3 separate regions of the Homo sapiens genome follow, and regions 2 and 3 are each linked to region 1. Evidence: promoter capture Hi-C in human tissues and cell types (Jung and others, 2019). All regions are on one chromosome and are shown on one strand. Each heading gives the region's core, a stretch centred on a gene start or on the middle of the fragment in contact. The rest is flanking DNA. Distances are from core to core; before and after follow the strand shown.

The links. The method cuts DNA at HindIII sites, captures the fragments that hold promoters and counts their contacts. A contact is called where the count stands out against the background at its distance.
Region 2: a fragment that was not itself captured here is called in contact with the fragment with the promoter of SGSM1 in region 1 in 2 of the 25 tissues and cell types used here (IMR-90 fibroblasts and heart right ventricle).
Region 3: a fragment that was not itself captured here is called in contact with the fragment with the promoter of SGSM1 in region 1 in 1 of the 25 tissues and cell types used here (dorsolateral prefrontal cortex).

The regions. Positions count from the first base shown.
Region 1 is chr22:24,803,745-24,807,460 of GRCh38, reverse strand. SGSM1 (small G protein signaling modulator 1) reads right to left here and starts at 1,250. Exons shown (of 25, transcript NM_001098497.3): 1 at 1,117-1,250; 2 at 977-1,020. The coding sequence starts at 1,135. RefSeq lists a silencer at 1,203-1,412. The HindIII fragment of the contact is 18,100 bases long and covers 1-3,716 here.
Region 2 is chr22:25,022,778-25,026,699 of GRCh38, reverse strand. KIAA1671 reads right to left here. Exons shown (of 13, transcript NM_001145206.2): 2 at 916-1,067. Among named protein-coding and RNA genes, the nearest start is that of KIAA1671, 72 kb to the right of the region's middle. RefSeq lists an enhancer at 1-752. The HindIII fragment of the contact is 3,060 bases long and covers 1,013-3,922 here.
Region 3 is chr22:24,560,846-24,564,513 of GRCh38, reverse strand. The region is part of intron 2 of SNRPD3 (small nuclear ribonucleoprotein D3 polypeptide); the gene reads right to left. Among named protein-coding and RNA genes, the nearest start is that of SNRPD3, 6.7 kb to the right of the region's middle. RefSeq lists an enhancer at 2,100-2,601. The HindIII fragment of the contact is 9,525 bases long and covers 1-3,668 here.

The DNA of each region.
Region 1 (3,716 bases), core at 1-2,500:
ATCACTCATTCACAGACTCATGCACCACACAATATACACACACAGACCCACCCTCACAAAAACAGATACAAAGACACACATAGATACGTGTACACACAGTGCAAAGAGATACACTTAGGTATCTCCAGACAGATGCACAGACATTCTCATACGCACACACTCACAGCCACAGGTCCTCACCCATGCAGGTATACACACCAGAGCACGCAGTCCAGGCATCGAGATGCTACCCCAAGGACTATAAATTCTGTCTATGGGGTTCTGGGAGGTCATTGGCCATGAGCCCTAAAGACTAGACTGCCCCCCTCTCCACGCGCTGACCCCAAGGAGAGTGGAGGGGCAGAGGAATGGCAGAACCTCTCTGATTCTCACCCTCTGAATGTGGGGTGGGAGTGGGGCGGGGGGAGTGAAGGGACCCCTACTGCCAGGGGAGCAGCTCACTGACCCGTGACTCTCAGGGAGGGAGTCCCCTGGCTCTTGGAGGTGGCTCCAAGGACTGAGAATTCGGGGGCTGGGAAGGGAGGTTTTATTTTCCTTCTGCCTTTTCCTGAAGCGTGCCCCACCTTCGGCAGCCCCATTCAGAGCCCCTCCTCCAGCACACCCTGTGGGGGGCGTCCCCCTAGCAGCTTCTCTCTCTTGGAAGGTCCCCTTCCTGAGCCGCGCCCACCTGCTCCTCCACAAGAGGAGGTCCTATCGGGATACATCCAGGTGTGCCCCACACCTGGAGGGCCCTCACGCTACATCCGCCCCCGCAAAAAGCCTCAAATGGGCCAAAGCCTCCCCACACCTACGCCCACCCCCAAACTCCCTCGCTGCGCCTCCTGCCCTGCGGGAGGTCAATGCCCACCCAGGTGAGCCCCACACCTGTTCTGGCCGCCCCCCCGCCGCCAGAGGCCACCCTTCCACGAAGACTCTTTTCCCGTTTGGCCGCTGCTGCCGGGGGAGTCCTGCCCAGTGCCCCCACCCCGGCACCCACCTCCTTCTTGACGGTGCGTAGCAGCCTCTGTCGGGTCTCCGCCTCTGTGGGACAAGAAACGAGAGCCGCGGGTCAGCCGAGAGAGGGTGCGGGGGCCGGGCGCTGCCCTCCCGCCGCCCTCGTGTCCAGCGGCCTCTTACCCGCGGGGGCCGAGGCCATGGCTCCGAGCGCTGCGTTCCGAGTCCCAGGAGGCGGTGGCGGCGGTGGCGGCGGTAGCTCCTCCGGCCGCGGCGCTGCTGCTGCAGCCGCGGCGGGGCGGGGCCGAGCGCTGAGTGACGGCCGGAGGGCGCCCGACGTCAGGACCCGAGGCGGCCGCCCCACCCCTCCGGAAAGCCACCGCTCGGCGGGGCAGCCGGGTCGCCTGCGCCAGGAGCCTTCGCGCCAAGCACGCACGCTCCCTCCCGCGCACCCAGCGCCCGAGCCTCTCAGGCTCCCCCAACCTCCACGCCAGCGCCCGCGTCCCTCCCTCTTCCCTAGGGCGGGGAAGGAAAGCGTCCGTCCTGAACCCTCCTCTGTGGGCCAGGCTCCAGGAAGTCACAGGAAATGGTGGGGCTACTACCGATATTCTCCAAGCCTCAGTTTTCTCATCTTTAAAATGGGTATAATGTGGTATAAAATGGGCATAATGGGTCTCAGAACGATCTGAGCCTTAAGTGAGATATTGGATGTGAAGCCCTTAATACAGACCCAGGGGGAAAGGCCAGCGAGCATAAATGCTTGCCACTGTTACTGTTATTATTATTAATTATTATTATTGAGGGTCTTCCAGCCGGTCGCGGTGGCTCACGCCTGTAATCCCAACACTTTGGGAGGCCGAGGCGGGCAGATCACTTGAGGTCAGGAGTTCGAGACCAGCCTGGCCAACATAGTGAAACCCCGTCTCTACGAAAATACAAAAATTAGCCGGACATGATGGCGAGCTGCCTGTAATCCCAGCTACTGGGGAGGCTAAGGCAGGAGAATCTCTTGAACCCGGGAAGCAGAGGTTACAGTGATCCAACATGGCGCCATTGCACTCCAGCCTGAGCGACAGAGTGAGACTCCGTCTCAAAAAATAAAAAAAATACAAATACAAAAATTAGCCAGGCATGGTGGCGTGCTCCTGTAATCCCAGCTACTCAGGAGGCTGAGGCATGAGAATTGCTTGAACCCTGGAGGCAGAGGTGTCAGTGAGCCAAGATTGTGCCACCACACTCCAGCCTGGGCAACAAAAGTGAAACTCCATCTCAAAAAAAAAAAAAAAAAAAAGAGTCTTCCAAGATACACTGGTTATCCATTCAGGAGAGGCCGGGACTTAAGTGGCTCCCTCCCCGACATGCAGGTCACTGGAGGAGTGGGGTTTTCCCAGGAGTCTGGCCCCAAAAGGAGGCACTTGTCAGCCAGGATCTCTGGGGCTGAGCAAGCAGTGGGCTCTGTGGGAAAAGCCTTGTTCCATCAAGAGCCCCTGGTCACCCCAAGTCCCTAACTGTATCCACCCAGAATGCAACTCAGGTCAATATTTATTGAGCACCTACTCTGTGCCAAGTGACTGTGCTAGAGATTTCTAAGTGAGCAAGACAGACAATGAACTCTGCCCTCATGGAGTTTAGGAGGCGGACAACAAAATATGTAAGAAAAGGACAGACCATGCTGGAAAGTTCTGGAGAAAAATTAAGTAGGCAAGGGGGACAGGGAGGGCCCAGACCCCTGGGGATCGTATTCTGAAGTAGGGTGGTTGAGGGAGGCCCCACTGAGCAGGTGACATTTAAGCAAAGAGGAAAAGGAGTAGGCCATGGGGATTTCTGGAGGAAGAGCAGTTGAGTCAAGGGAACAGCAAATGCAAAGTCCCTGAGGAGGGAGTGTGTCCAGTCAAACAGTGACAAATAGCACAGATGCCTGTGGGGCTGGAGTGGTGTGAACAATGGGGACGGTGGTGGGATGTTGGCCAGAGAGGTGCAGGGCCAAAACCCTGTATGACTTTGATGGTGATGTTAAGGATTTGCAATGCCTTTTAGGGTCCCCCAGTATTCAGGCCTTCCTTCAGAAGGACTAGAGGGCAGCTTAGAGTGCCTCTCCGTGCAGCAGTGGATCCAGAGCCCCCTTTTTTCCATTGGTCAGTGTCAGGGGTCTCTGGCCGTAAGCCACAGAAGCTGACTTTGGCTTCCTCAGGCAAAAGGAAATAAACTGGGAAGATAATATGTGATCCCAGAGCCCATGGGAGCCTGGAGAACTGGGAAATGGGATGAAATCAAGGTGGCTCTGGAAGGCCAGAAAGGGGAATCTTGGGAATATTTGCCTGGCAAGGACAGTGTGGTTAGGGCACTGCTGCTCTGGTAAAGAGAATGCCATTCGTTTAAGGTTTTCATCCTATGGAGGGAGTGCCTGATTGTCCTGACCTGGGACACAAGCCTGCCCATTGGCTTGGGGAGAGGTGTCTCAATCACAAACCCCTGCTCCACAATCTCCAGCAAGTCCCCCAGGAGAATGGGAAATGGTTGCTTGGCAGCAAAAATAATCATATATTGCGCACCTACTATGTGGCAGGCACTGCGCTAAGGGCTTTGGGTTTTGCTCACATGATCTTATTGACCCTCCTTCCACCCCACGCTAACCCTATGAGCCTTATGTCATTGACAAAGCCAAGCCTGGAGGGGGTTTCATCCCTGTTTGTTTAACAAGTGTGTGGCCGCCAGGATTCTGACCTGAGGACCAAAGTGATTGATCCATTAGTTCCTCTCCTTGGCTTCACCCCTAAGTTAAC
Region 2 (3,922 bases), core at 1,293-3,792, 220 kb before region 1:
GGAGTGCAATGGCGCGACCTTGGCTCACAGCAACTTCTGCCTCCCAGGTTCAAGCCATTCTCCTGCCTCAGCTTCCGGAGTAGCTGGGATTACAGGCATGTGCCACCACGCCCAGGTAATTTTGTGGTTTTAGTAGAGGTGGGGTTTCTCCATGTTGGCCAGGCTGGTCTCGAACTCCTGACCTCAGGGGATCCGCCCACCTCAGCCTCCCAAAGTGCTGAGATTACAGGCTTGAGCCACCACACCCAGCCTCAGCTCTGTCTTTTTAAAAATTATTTTTTATTCCTTTCTGGTCTTAAAAAGTGCCAGGTAAGTTGCTGTTCTCGATCCCCCAGGCTCTCTTCATGCCAGTGTTTTCTTCCCTGTGAAACTGCCCCCAGCCAGCCCCCACCTAGATGGACTAAAAAAGTAGAAGGTATTTTAGTTAAACACAAGCCTCTCCACTTCCCTTCCTTGGGGCCCCACACTGCTCCCCCGGCTCTGACTCACTCAGCAGCCTCCAGGAAAGAAAGGCAGACAGATTTTGATATTTTCTCTTCCTTACACGCTCGATGGTGCTAACAGATTCCATCTCCCCAAACTGGAGAACACTGTCTAGACACGGTTAGAGGTAGAATGGAGGGACAGATATGAAGAATCTGAGAATTGGAGAATTTCCATACACAAAGATCCCAACCAGAGTTCTAAGGCTCCAGAATCCCACCCAGAATCAGGGCCATTGGCCTTTTGGGAGAGCAGCTGTGACCTCTGGAAACCCTGATTGAGGATACATATGTAATAGCCAGGACATGAGACACAGAACAATGACAGGATTCAAAGGACAGAGAGAAAATTCTCTGGCAGAACTCACAGGCACTCTCCATGCCCTTGGACACTCCAGCCCTCAAGCTTGGGTCAAGCATGGGCCCCACTTACCCAAGCTGGCAGGCCCTGGGTCAGGGGGTGTGACTGCCGGGAAAAGCCAGTAGTGTCACATGTCATCATGAATGGGGCTGTCCACACACTTCCATGGCAGAAACAAGAAGGGGGAAAGAAGACTCGTCCCAGCAGGCTGAGTTTCAGCAGGTCTAAGGAGACACAGGATGACAGCCTCAGTTCCGGAGTTCTGGCAGTATGGGAACAGACGGCACAAAAGCTTTCAAGCTCCAAATGCATCCGCTGGCATCTACTCCAGCTTGTAAAACGTATGCTCCTTTTGGCTTTTCGATTTTGTAGCCTTATATGTACGTGTGCATAAATAGTGCTGAGCCCACAGTACGTGCTCAATAAAAATCTTCCCTGTTCTCTGATACATTTATTAAGCACCTACGGTGTGTACAAAGATGAGCATGAAACATCCCCTGCAACCATGCAACTCACAGTCTTCTGTAAGAAACACACATACACACACAAGCAATTACAACTGGGTAACAAATGTCACTTTTTAAATGCAGGATGTGGGGGCAAATAGGACTGATTGCCTAGAATTGGAACTGGTGGTCCTGCATAACTCACTTGACTTAGAGGAGGTAGCTACTGAGCATTCGAGGTGCTGACTCACTTGGTAGCTGCTACCAAGTGATGTGCTTCACTTGGTAGCTGCTACCAAGTGATGTGCTTCACTTGGTAGCTACATTAGCGGTATTTGGACATTGTACCTCTTTGAAGCCCTCCAAATGCCTCCTCAGGGCCTTTGCACATGCTATGCCTGTTCTCTGGGACAACCATCTTGCTCACACACAGACACAGACCACAGTTCACACATCTCTGTCTCCCTTCAACCCGGTACAACCCCCTCCTACCTGTTCACAGAGCACCACATACACTCGGAGGCTTGGCAGGACTTAGCATAGCTACACTGTTACATTTAATACGACATCATCCTTCACATCAGCCTCTCCCATTCAATGGTAAGCCCCGCCAGAGGACACCCCAAATCCCTAGTGGCTAGCACAGCAGCCTGGCACATAAAAGCACCAGATACATGATTACTGAATAGAGAAATAAATCATTGCTGAGTTAATAAGTAAATGAATGAAGAAATATTCTTCTGCCCCTGCTGCCCACTCTCTAAGATGCTAAATAAGTCCAGATACCATGAGTCTCATGCCAAATGACTCTAAGCAATCTGGGACATAAGATGAGTTACTCTAGCTGTGGCTGTGGCTACTGAATGACAGAATCAAAAAGCTGTGAAGTGCTCAGCCAGAGGCTCAATCCACCAATCCTCACCCAGGGACCCCTATCAGTTTCACAAGCCAGAGGCTCAATCTACCAACCCTCACCCAAAGACCTCTATCAGTTTCACTGGGCCACACAGAGGAGCTCCACCCCGAGGGCAGGCACCTGCTACATCCACATTAACCTCACACTGTCACACCAGCTCACCTGCCCAAATGTGGAATGAATGCTTCTCTGCATGGATTTTCCTGGGAAAAGAGTCACCAAGAGCAACTGTTTGCTGAATTAGGATCAATGGTACACAAATGTCACCCCACTTTGGGAACCTTGAACCCACCTCAGGGACTATACTGCATGGAAGTAAAAGGAGAAGGACAAGATAAATTAAGTCCCTTGGTCCACGCTCCTCTACACCAAACAGTGCCTCTGTGACCCGTCATCTGCTTTGTATCTTGAACTGCCTCTCAAGTTACCATTGCAAATGCCTAGCAGATGTCTGATATGTAAACACAGTTGCACAAATGAGTCAATGAATGAATTAATAAATCAATGAACAAAGAAAAGTAAAAGGAGTTTTTTGGGATTTTTTTTTTTTGAAACAGAGTTTCACTCTGTCACCCAGGCTGGAGTGCAATGGCGTGATCTCAGCTCACTGCAACCTCTGCCTCCCAGGTTCGAGCAATTCTCCCGCCTCAGCCTCCTGAGTAGCTGGGACTACAGGTGCATGCCACCACACCTGCCTGATTTTTATATTTTTGGTAGAGACGGGGTTTCACTATGTTGGCCAGGCTGGTCTTGAAATCCTGACTTTGTGATCCGCCCGCCTCGGCCTTCCAAAGTGCTGGGATTGAGCCACCGCACCCGGCCTAGTAAAAGGAGTTTTTAAACCACCATAGTAGATGGCTCCGTAATATTTTAAAGTCCTAGCCAAACCTAGAAACCTATGATTCTCAGGTTTTCATTTAACCTGCTGTAAAATACAGGGAAACCAATTTAACTGTATGCTTTGAAGTCTTCTTTTAAATGTTATCACATATGTTACACTTGATTTAAGAGATGTTAGCCTCTTTGAAAACCTTTCTGAAGCCCACTCACGGAGAGGCTAGATGCTGTTTATTCTTGGGGTGGACATGTCCACTATTTTTTATTTATTTTATTTTTTATTTTTATATTTTTAGACAGTCTCACTTTGTAGCCCAGGCTGGAGTCCAGTGGCACAATCTCGGCTCACTGCAAACTCCACCTTCCAGGTTCAAGTGATTCTCGTGCCTTAACCTCCGTGAAGCTGGGATTACAGGCACCTACCACCACATCTGGCTGTTTATTTATTTAGAGACAGAGTCTCGGTGTGTCACGCAGGCTAGAGTGCAATGGCACTATCTCAGCTCATTGCAACCTCCGCCTCCCAGGTTCAAGTGATTCTCCTGCCACAGCCTCCCAAGTAGCTGGGACTACAGGCACCCAGCACCACACCCAGCTAATTTTTTTTTGTATTTTTAGTAGAGACGGGGTTTCACCGTGTTAGCCAGGATGGTCTGGATCTCCTGACTTCGTAATCCGTCCGCCTCGGCCTCCCAAAGTGCTGGGATTACAGGCGTGAGCCACCGCGCCCGGCCTCGGCCTCTTTTTTAAACAGTGTATTAGCTGACCATTATGACCAAAGCCAAGTCAACAAGACCTCCCCAGAGAAAGAAGGGAAACCAAGTCTGAGCCACCTCTAGTTTCATATGTATGTAAATTATCATGGAGGGCAGCACGGTGA
Region 3 (3,668 bases), core at 733-3,232, 240 kb after region 1:
GCTAGAGCTTGCTAATAAGCCTGACCTGTGTTTGTATCACAAGCCCAAGGCAGCAACTTTTGAGTGAACCAGATCCTAATCAACTCCAGGCAGGAACACCCAGTTTAATCAACTTTCCTCAACAGCCACAATGAAACACATATGGTATAAGCCAGGTACCCAACTGAAATGACATCCTGAGGGGGAGAGAGAGAATCTTTGTAGCACAAAGTGGTGGGACTTTCTTAGATACCTGGGGCCAAGATGGAGAAAGCTAGCTCCAGGACTGTGAAGGTGTGTTGGGGTGTCTCAGGCCTGTCAATACACCAGAAATGCATTCTTTAGGACAATTTCACACATACACAAAGGCAGAGGTGCTTGGATGCCACTGCTATAATACGAATACCAACTAAGGCCATCTACCTATCTTTGTTCTTAGGAAATACAAAAGTATTATGGGGTAGAGGAGCATGATGAATGCAATCCACACACAAACAGTACAGGAAAAAAAAAGTATACGATAAGTTTAAAAAACTGGTTTTCCTTCAACCTAGAGGGCTAGGTGTCTAAAGAAATTCAATTACATTGAATTCAGAGATTTCAAAAACTTTCCTAGCAATAGTTATGGGCAATTTTCTGACCCAATCATGTGAGAGCTTCTTTTGGGTTCTCATTTTTATACAGTGACACAAGACCATATTCCATACAGAGACCAGTTTTCCAAAGATGGCTATTATATGCCAAAGCCAACAAAACAGATTTCAAACAGTCCCATCAGTGATTGGGTGGTCATGTTGAAGCCCCAAAAGCACAATGTCTGCTTGTGCAGAGCTCTACACCACATTCTCCCACCAAAACTTCTAAGAATTAAGTCATTTTGAATGTAGTGAAATGGGTTTGACCATTACTCTCTGTATTTGCTTGTATCATTTATAATTTGGGTCCATTTTTATAAAACTGGGGACATATTTTGGAGTATTGTTATTTTTCTCACTTATGCCAACAGCATTTTGACCAACATGCCATATCCTGCAGCTGATGCCCTATCCTGCAGCACTGGCCACCAGTGCTTGGCTTGCAGCTGTCGGAATGAGAAGGAGAACAAAAGCTCCCTGCCTTCCCAGCTTAACCTCAGATGCACACCCTCTGACCCGATAAGCACCATTTCAGGGACCTCATCCTGAGTTTCACATACACATATTTCCTCTTCTTCCTTTAAAAAAAAAAATATATATATATATACACACACACACACATATATATACATACATATATACATACATACACACATACACACACACACACACACACACACACACACACACACATATATGAGACAGGGTCTCACTGTGTTGCCCAGGGTGGTCCCAAACTCTTGGGATCAAGTGATCCCCCTGGCCCAGCCTCCCAAAGTGCTGGGATTACAGGCATGAGCCAATGTGCCTGGCCATATTTTGCATTTTCAAATGTCAAAAACAGTGCTAAGATAACAGGATACTTTAAAACTACTTGAGGGACCATAAAAGGGTATTTTGTATGGGGATGTTGTCGAGGATATCATCTAATAGTGTCTCCTGTATCTGAGTGCCAGGGAAATCCACACAATTGCTATTTTAACTTAAGAACACTATGCATTTTGGAACTGATGATCTTCCCTGCTTAATCTTACACTGGAATATACCTTTATTCAATGTACAGAGAGATTCAGGTTTACATTTCTGGATACTGACTGCTTGGCTTCATTTTACATTCTACCCCAGCTTACCTGCACCATGATCTATGCATCTACTTTTATCCTGCCATAGAATTTTTTTAATTTTAGAGATAGGGTCTTGCTCTGTCACCCAGGCTGGAGTGCAGTGGTGCGACCAGAGCTTAATGCAGCCTGAACTGCTGGGTGGGCTCAAGTGATCCTTTTTGCCTCAGCCTATGGAGTAGCTGGGACTACAGGCATAAGCCATCACATCCAGATAATATATTTTTTATTTTTGGAGATGGAGTCTTGCTCTGTCGCCCAGGCTGGAGTGCAGTGGCGCGATCTTGGCTCATTGCAAGCTCTGCCTCCTGGGTTCACGCCATTCTCCTGCCTCAGCCTCCCGAGTAGCTGGGACTACAGGCGCCCGCCACCACACCTGGCTAATTTTTTGTATTTTTTTTAGTAGAGACAGGGTTTCACCGTGTTAGCCAGGCTGGTCTCAATCTCCTGACCTCGTGATCTGCCCGCCTCAGCCTCCCAAAGTGCTGGGATTACAGGCGTGAGCCACAGTGCCCAGCCCCACATCCAGATAATTTTTAAACTTTTTTGCTTTTCAGAAGAGACAGGGTCTAACTATTTCTGAAAGAGGATAGAATAAAAAGTAAATACTAAAACCCCAAAACAGGGCAGGTGTGGCTTAGGCCTGTAATTCCAATACTTTGGGAGGCCAAGGTGGGAGGATCGCTTAAGTCCAGGAGTGCAAGACTAGCCTGGGCAACAGAGTGAGATCCTCTATTTATCTTTTCCGAATCGTTGTGGTGTGCTTTTGTGTGTGTGTGAGACTAGGTCTCACTCCGTCGCCCAGGCTGGAGTGCAGTGGCACTCCATAGCTCACTGCAGCCTTGACTTCCTGGGCTCAAGTAATCGTCCCAACTCAGCCTCCACCTGAATGGCTGGGACTACAGGCATGTGCCACCACATCCGTCTATTTTATTTTTTTTACAGACAAAGTCTTGTCATGTTGCCCAGGTTGGTCTTGAACCCCTGGGCTCAAGTGATCCTCCTGCCTCAGCCTCTCAAAGTGTTGGGATTATAGGAGTAGCCACCACATTTTGTCCCACCCCACTTTTATAACAGAAAATGTTATTGAACAAGCAAGGAAAAGTGCTAAGAGGATGTTCTCATTCCCAAAAGGCAGAATGACTGGATCTGGGAAGGACAGGCAAGCCTCACAGCCTGAGATGTGCTGAACAAACTAAACTGTGCTCAGAGTTCACCCACCACCAGCTTTAGCTACGCCACAGTCTGCTGGCTCTTATTCAATGTGCCTAGGTTTTGATAGACCCAGTGAGGCCTCTACATCCTGTTACAGGCTAAATTGTATCCCTCAAAAAAATTCATTGTTGAAGTCCTAATACCCAGCACCTCAGAATGTGATCATATTTAGAGACAAAAAATCTTTACAGGCCAGATGTGGTGGCTCATGCCTGTAATTCCAGGAGTTTGAGAGACTGAGGCAGCAGGATCACTTGTGGCCAGGAGTTTGAAACTGGCCTGAAAAACATATCAAGACTCCGTCTCTACAAAAAAATTTAAAAATTAGCCAGGTATGGTGGGGCACACTGGTAGTCCTGGATACTTAGAAGACTGAGGTGAAAAGATCTCTTGAGCCCAGAAGTCCAAGGCTGCCCATGAGCTATGATCAAACCACTGCACCCCAGCCTGGTCAACAGACCAAAGCTTAATCTCAAAAAAAAAAAAAAAAAAAAAAAAAGAAAAGAAAAAGGAAAAGAAAAAAAAGGCTGGGTGCAGTGGCTCATGCCTGTAATCCTAGCACTTTGGGAGGCCAAGGTGGGCAGATTGCCTCAGCTCAGGAGTTAGAGACCAGCCTGGGCAACATGATGAGCCTCCATCTCTATTAAAAATACAAAAAATATTAACATTAGTGGGGTACGGTGGCCCATGCCTATAACCCCAGCTACTCAGGAGGCTG